Linked DNA regions of Homo sapiens: region 1 is linked to region 2. The links are contacts of gene promoters, found by promoter capture Hi-C in human tissues and cell types (Jung and others, 2019). All regions are on one chromosome and are shown on one strand. The core of a region is centred on a gene start or on the middle of the fragment in contact, and the rest is flanking DNA. Distances in the headings are between cores, read along the strand shown.

Region 1 (3,659 bases), core at 78-2,577, 540 kb before region 2:
TGCCTCCTGAAGTCATCAGGAAGCATATGGATTTGAGGAAGTAGAATTGCTGTATGGAATTCCTCTAATTTAAGGTTTGGGGTATTTTGAGGGATGGAAATAGGTACCACTCGTTGAGGGCTTACCATATGCTAGGCTGCATGTGTGCCCTTTTGAATCCTCACGAAAACTACCAGGGGTTTCATTTTACAGGGAAGCTACGAGAATTTAAGAAACTCCTCCAACCTTAGACTTTAATGAGTGCTTGAGTTGGGATTTGAACCTGGATCTGTCCAAGTCCAGAGCTCGTCATCACATCTCCCGGGGTGCTGAAATTAAAGAAACAAACGGCTCTCAGTCACACATTGGAGCCTGAAGATACAGGCATGCAAATAGCGGAGTGCCAGCCTCCCTCACACAATTAGAAAATAGCTTGTACTCTGAAGGTGATGAAATCTTTAAAACATGTGACGCTTTCTCAGCCTAAATGGAAGGCAGCCATTTTGCACCTTTGTTCGTGAAACCCTCACCCCGTCACCAGGGCGAAGCAAGGTTTATTTGGAAGATTGTGACTTTGAAGTTGGGATAACCCAGGATTTGGTACGATGTCTTTCCTTGTCCCGTGAAAAGAGGGTGTTTGGGCACATGGGGTCACTAGAATGAGATTAAGATTATAGGAAGGCGGTTAAGTAAATGTACAATAAGGGTTCCACCTTCCTCTTTACAATCAAATAAATGACATACTAATGAGATTATTCTTATCTGCGCAATAAAAGCTTATCTCAGGGGAGCTCTCTTTGCTGAAGCCTGTTAGCCCAACTCTTCTGTAGAGATTGAGAAGAATACTTCCTTTGAAAGGATTTTATGGTTCCAAGTTTTTATTAAATCTGCATAACTGAGGACAACCCTGCCTCTTTTTTTTTTTTTTTTGAGTTGAGATTTCTCTGTTGCCCAGGCTGGAGTGCAGTGGCTCAATCATAGCTCACTGCAGCCTTCAACTCCTGGGCTCAAGCAATCCTTCTTCCTCAGCCTCCTGAGTAGCTGGAACTACAGGTGCACACCAGCACGCCCGGGTAGTTTTTTTTTTTAAATTCTTGTAGAAATGGGGTTTCGCTATGTTGTCCAGGCTGGTCTTGAACTCCTGGTTTCAAGTGATCCTCCAGCCTTGGTCTCCCAAAGCACTGGGCTTACAGGTGTGAGGTATGTTGCCCTGCCCTTGCCCCATTTTTATGAGCAGGCAGGAAGCTTTTCTAGCCCCTCCAATGTAGGAGGTCCCTGAGCTCATAGTGTGCCGGTAAACCTGCTCTCTGAGGAGAAAGCAGAGCTTCGATTGCAGTATCTGCCAATTTCTGTGACGTAAATATTCCCACCATGGCTAATTTCTTTTTCTTTTTTTTGAGTCTCACTCTGTCACCCAGGCTGGCTGGAGTGCAGTGGTGCAATCTCGGCTCACTGCAACCTCCACCTCCCAGATTCAAGCTGTTCTCCTACCTCAGCCTCCTGAGTAGCTGGGACAACAGGCATGTGCCACCACGCCCAGAAGTTTTTGTATTTTTAGTAGAGACCGGCTTCCCCATGTTGGCTAGGCTGGTCTTGAACTCCTGACCTCAGGTGAACGGCCCAGCTTGGCCTCCCAAAGTGCTGGGATTACAGATGCAAGCCACCATGCCCAGCCTGATTTCAAACTGCCAGTTTGGGCTGGGAACATTACTAAATAGTTAACAATCTGTGTGAGCCAAGAAGAGCTGGGTCCTGCTCACCATTCATTGCACTGAGCCCACCCACACGACACCCCTGCTTCCCCTTCCGTCACCCCCATCACTTTAATGGAAGAAATTGTGGCCTCACTTCTGCTTGGTCCATGTCTGCCTAGGAGCAGTACTGAAAAAGGATTTGGGTACTACTGAGTAACCGAATTTGGCCAGCAAGAGTAGAAGGCTTCAAAACTCAGGCTGCATTTTAAAATCACCCGGGAGCTTAAAAAAACAACAATCCATGTTCCAGGCCCATCCCCAGTTGAATCAGAATGTCTGGGTGTGGGTCCAGACCTCTGTAGATTTGGAAAGCTTCCCGGGTGACTGTAATGTATATCCACGTTGAACACCAGGGATGTGGTGATGAATTTGTTCAAGAAGAAAGCTGAGGGGGTGCAGTTTGGGGCAGGGCGTGGCAGACCCTGTGTATTTGAGCCCAAGGAGGTGAGATCTCCCTTGCAGAGCAGGGAATGTTTTTCCTTAAGGCCTCGTAGAGGGTGAGGAAGTGCTGGGCTAGGAGAGGCAGGCGGAGCCCATCTTCCCCCCAACAGGTCTGTCCTCCTCCAGGGGCACGTGTCCTACACTGATGAGGTCCACATACTTGTTTGGCTTTGGTTGCTTCTGCTGGTCTAGAAAGGAAAAGAGTCTTCCTTCCAGGAAGTCAGGGGGTCAGGATGAAGCCAGGCAGACCCCCTGGGTGGGTGTGATGAGCTGTTCTCAGATATTAAAGCAGAGGGGCTTACTGGGACCACCCAGATGAAGGAAAGAGAAACCCTACCGCCCAAGGACCATAGCTGAACACTTTGTAAGAGTCCTTGAGCTTGGGTGCGCACATAAGCTGATTATTTTTTCTCCATCATAATTACCAGTAAAATTATTTTAAAATGTGAGAGCTTTCCTTGGAGGCAGTAAGCATGTGGGAGGGAAAAGTCATTCAACTTCAGAGCCAGCCATGGTGAGCGGGGCTGGGACTGGGGAGAGGCACACGAGGCCCCTGGGGTGCAGGATTCAAGGAGGTGCTCGCCCTGGGGGGGTGTCTGGGGAAGGGTCTGTCCTGCTGGCCAGAGGAGGGCTGTTTGAGAGAGGGCGGTCCTGGGCTCACTTCCTTAGAGTTGGGCAGTGAGTGTGGAAGAGCTCATACATGGGAACCTAGAGTGAAGAGCAGGGGCCAGGATCACACTGCTGGATCACCCCCAGAAGGGGCAGGAAGGCTAAGGGGGAGCCAGTGGAGGAGCAGCTGGGATGGGAGAACAAGTGCCCTGCGGGGCCCTGAAGTCAAGGAGGAGAAAGATGGGGGTAGGGGGAGAGGGGGTTGAGAGCTCAAAGCAGACGGGACAGTTCTGAGTCTATCATGTGCGGAGGATTTATGAACGGGAGGACTGGAACCCTGTCACTGTGGTAGTGGAGAAACTCCTATAATAGAAGAAATAGCACAGAGTGGAGGCCACGCAGAAGAATGTTGGTGATAAAAGAAATTGGACCGTATTTGATGGTGTGGAGACAGGGCAGGAGGGAGCCAGGGTTGGGTCAGAGGGACTGGGATTCTAGCAGGGGCGGAAAATTCTCCTTGGGGTACCCGTGCGGTGGGGAGTGGCCGCAGATGCTGAGAGGGAAGCATTGGGTGTGAATAGCTGATCACCAGGAGCAGCTGGTTAAAAGACCTTCCCCAAATGCTTTCTCAGATCATAACATCTGCAACTTTTTCCCACTAGCCTTTGTGGAGGGCTGGCTGGGGGGCCCATTTGTCCTTAAGACTCAATTCAGCAGACTCACTTGCTCTTCCAGGCCCAGTTCACACTGCCTTCTCAGACACACCCGAGGAACCTGCACCTGGGTCTGCCTGTGTCCTAGCTTTCTTACCTGTCTGTTGTCCCCCTAGGCAGGGCGCTGCTTGGGGGCAGTTGCATTTTATTATCTCTGCATCCT
Region 2 (3,654 bases), core at 591-3,090:
CCAGGTAGGAAGCAGTGAGCTATTACAATTGTTAGATCTAGTGATGGTCCAGCTAGATGATCCTGACTTCAGCCGAGTGGTGAGAAGTCGTGGGATTCTGGATCCTCTGAAGGTGGAGCTGACACCATTTGGGATATGAGAGAATGATAAGCAAAAAGGACAGCACTGAATTTTTCGCCTAAGCAAATGGTGGCCTGGAGTTGCCGATGACTGGGATGGAGAAGATTTTTAGGAGATGTAGCCGGAAGGGATGGCAGGAGTTCAGCTGGCGACATGCTGGACTTAAACACCAGCTAGGCTTCAGGAAATGTTGAGGATGCAGGTGGATGTGAATTTGTTATTCAGGGGTGAGGTCACAGCTGGAGATACATATGAGCTTCATTAACCTGTGTATGATATTCAAAGCCATAAGACAGGGGCGATCACAGCAAATAGCAAAGAAAAGAGGCCTAACCATAAGCCCTGGGGCCCTCCATATTTAGAGGTTAGGGGAGTAGAAGAAAACCACAAAAGGGACAGTGAAGCCAGAAACACAGCAGGAAGCCCTGGTGAGCACTGGGAGAAGGGGTTTCCAGGAGCGCAAGTGATCAGCTGCTGCTGATAGGTCAGGTTTGGTGAGGCCACATGCCTGCCTCTTGGTTACTAGAGTTACTTATGCGTGGACAGCCCGAGGCATGGAGTGATGACCTGTGCCTAAGTGTCAAGGAGAAGACAAGCAGGTCCGGAATGGTAAAAATGTCAGCACATCTTTGGGAAGTTGTGGAGCCCAGCCAGTAAGCCAACACGGCTGGATACCAGGGTGCTTAGGCCATAGCAAACTGCATGTGAGCCGGTGAAGGCTCAGCAGGCTTTAAACGGGGATGCCGGCCCGGCTGGCTGAGTTTCAGAAAGACCACGCCGATGGCTGGGGGCAGGGACTCAGCCAGTGTCCTCAATCCAGGACCTTGTGGGACCGCCCGGCAGCCAGTGCTTCCGCAAATCTGAAGGGTCCCATTTGCCTCAAAGCGGCGAGACGAGCCTTCCAAGCGCTGCTGCAGTGCGGTCCCAGCTCCGCGGGGGGTCCCCGGGGATGACCTAAATCGGGGATTGCGGTGGGACAGACGGTCCAGGGGCTAAGGAACCCCGTGGAGCAGGCAGCGGCGCTCAGGAGGCAGCAGCTTGAGATCCACGGCTCGATTTTTAAAAATTGTAAGGGAGAAGGATGCCTCGAAAGCCTCTGTGGTATTTTGTCGCATCTCGCACCCCTGTCTAAACTTCAGTCCACTCGTGGAGTGTGGACCCCCACGCCGCATGGGCTCAGGAGGCGCTTCGCCTTTGGAAAGAAATCGCATGTATTAAGGGAAAGCACGTGTGCTACTTTGAGAAAGGAGGCAGAAAGTTACCAAACGCGGGAAGGGGAGGCTCGCCAACCAAGCGAGGCCGTGGGACACTGGCGAGTCGCAGAGGCTCCTGGAGCCAGCCGCTTGGAAACAAACAACAACGCGGCGGGCGAACTCCCGGGCAGCCTCCCCCGTGCCGGGGCGCGGGGGCCGCCGCGAGAACCCGGGCAGGAGCTGGCAGGCGCGGGGCCTGGCCGGCGGGAGGGTCCCGCACCCCGGCCCAGTGTGAACACCCCGCGCACCCCCCTGGCCCGGCCCGCCGGGGGCGCGGACTACAAGTCCCAGGAAGCCCAGAGGCAGGCGCGGGGCGGGGCCTGGCGCAATTCCCCGGGATCCGGCGCGCTGGGAAGCGCCGAGGAGGACGCAGCGCCGGCGGCCGGAGGGCGGCAAGCGCGCGGGCAGGCGGGGCGCGGGCGCGGGCGCGGGCGAGGGCGAAGGCGGGGGCGGGGCCGACGTGGGCCGGAGCCCTGCGTGCCAGGGAGGGGGCCGGCCGGGCAGGCGGCGGGCGGCGCTCGGAGCGGGCTCCGCGGCTTGCAAGGCGCCTGCGACTCGGTCCCAGGTCGGCGGGCGGCGCACGGCGGGCTCGCGCGGGGGCCCCGGCGCGCCGGGCGGCGCAGTACGCAGCGCGCGGACCCACGCCACGGCCAGGAGCCCAGAGCAGCGCGGCCACACTGCCCAGGGGTCGGCCCTCGGCCCCGGCGCTCGGAGCGCGGCGGCTGCCTGGGCTTTAATGGCTGCTCCGCGGAGCAGCGCCTAGGGCTGGAAGGCGGCTGCGGCTCAGGAAGTCACCCGAGCAAGCCTCCTTCGGGGCCGGCCGCACCCGCCGCGGCGCGCTCCATGGGGGCGCGCTCCCCCCGGGCGGCCCGCTGACCCGGGACGCCGGGGCCCGCTCGCTCGCCGGCCGCGCGTCCCGGCCATGAACTGAGCCCGCGGGCCAGCCCCGCGCCTGCTCCGCCCGCGCCTTTCTTCTCGCGCCTCCTCCGCCCGCCGCCGGCGGGCCCGGCTCCCCGGGGGCTGCGGCGCCCCGGGCTCGGCGGCCCGCGGGCCCCGGGGCGCGGGGCGGCGGCGGCGGGGGGCGCGCGGCTCCGGGCGCGGCGCCTGCACCATGAACTACCAGCAGCAGCTGGCCAACTCGGCTGCCATCCGGGCCGAGATCCAGCGCTTCGAGTCGGTCCACCCCAACATCTACTCCATCTACGAGCTGCTGGAGCGCGTGGAGGAGCCGGTGCTGCAGAACCAGATCCGGGAGCACGTCATCGCCATCGAAGGTGAGGGCCGGGCCGCCTTGGGGCCTCGGGAAGGCACGGACGCCCGCGGCGCGGCGGGGGTGTGCGCTGTGTGCGTGCGGGTGTCCACACACGCCGGCCGGGGCACGCGGCTGCTCCGCCGAGGGAGCACTGCGGCGCTGCTTGTCTTGCAAGGCCGGGCGAGCGTCGCCTGCGCCCCGCCGCGCCGCGAGCTCCGCCAGGAAGATAGATCGTCAGCGTTAATTTGATCGTGGACAATAGAGTCTCTCCTGCGGGAAAGTGGCTCGGTGCCTCCGCGTCCTGGGCTGCCGGAGCGTCCCGGCCCAGCAGACGCCTGGGGGCAGCCGGCGGGGTCGGCGCCACCCGACCCCTGACAGGTTACCAGGCCAGGCCTGGGCGTCTTGCTGGACGTTGAAGACGTGTTCTGAGAAGTGCTGCCGCTGGGGGCGAGGCCCGGGCCGGCGTGTTTGGGCGGTGCAGGGCTGCCCTCCTTAGTGTGTTTGCTTAATTCAGGGGTGCAGTTGAACTTAGTGGATGCCGAGAGCCAGCCCTAGCCGCGGGAGCATCGTGTCCAGGTGCCCCTGTGCAAACGCTGGAACCGGTAGTGTGCTTTGTACCAACCAAAAGTCCGGGGTTGGATTAGAGGAAGAACCCTACCAGGAGGGCAGGGCGTCCTCCAGCGGAAGGGTCTCGCTTTCATATGTCTGCAGTTGGAGGCCACTGAAGTGGAGGGTGCTGTGGTTTTAAGAGGGGCAGGATGCTTGGGCAGAATCCCCACCCGCTTCCCTCTGCATGTCAGGCAGGGCCATGGCCTTCCAGGAGAGCTACAGCAGCAGTCTGCCTTCCGGGGCTGTGCCCTCTGGATTTCTGGTGGCTCTCATTTCTCTGTTTCCAGGCTGCTGATTTATTTTCTTGCTTCATCCCTTTGGTCCGGCCAAGACTCACCTGGGGCACCAGGTGGCATGTGCGTGGACAGTGTGGAGTCATATCTTAGCCACAGTTGATCAGCACTTTCTCCCTTCTCAGCG

What was found. Contacts are between HindIII fragments. The study calls those that stand out against the background at their distance.
Region 1: a fragment that was not itself captured here is called in contact with the fragment with the promoter of AGAP1 in region 2 in 1 of the 25 tissues and cell types used here (dorsolateral prefrontal cortex).

Annotation. Positions count from the first base shown.
Region 1 is chr2:234,955,665-234,959,323 of GRCh38, forward strand. All of the region lies in intron 1 of SH3BP4 (SH3 domain binding protein 4), which reads left to right. Among named protein-coding and RNA genes, the nearest start is that of SH3BP4, 5.5 kb to the left of the region's middle. The HindIII fragment of the contact is 3,697 bases long and covers 1-3,176 here.
Region 2 is chr2:235,492,203-235,495,856 of GRCh38, forward strand. AGAP1 (ArfGAP with GTPase domain, ankyrin repeat and PH domain 1) reads left to right here and starts at 1,841. Exons shown (of 18, transcript NM_001037131.3): 1 at 1,841-2,647. The coding sequence starts at 2,485. RefSeq lists an enhancer at 3,095-3,654. The HindIII fragment of the contact is 11,360 bases long and covers 1-3,654 here.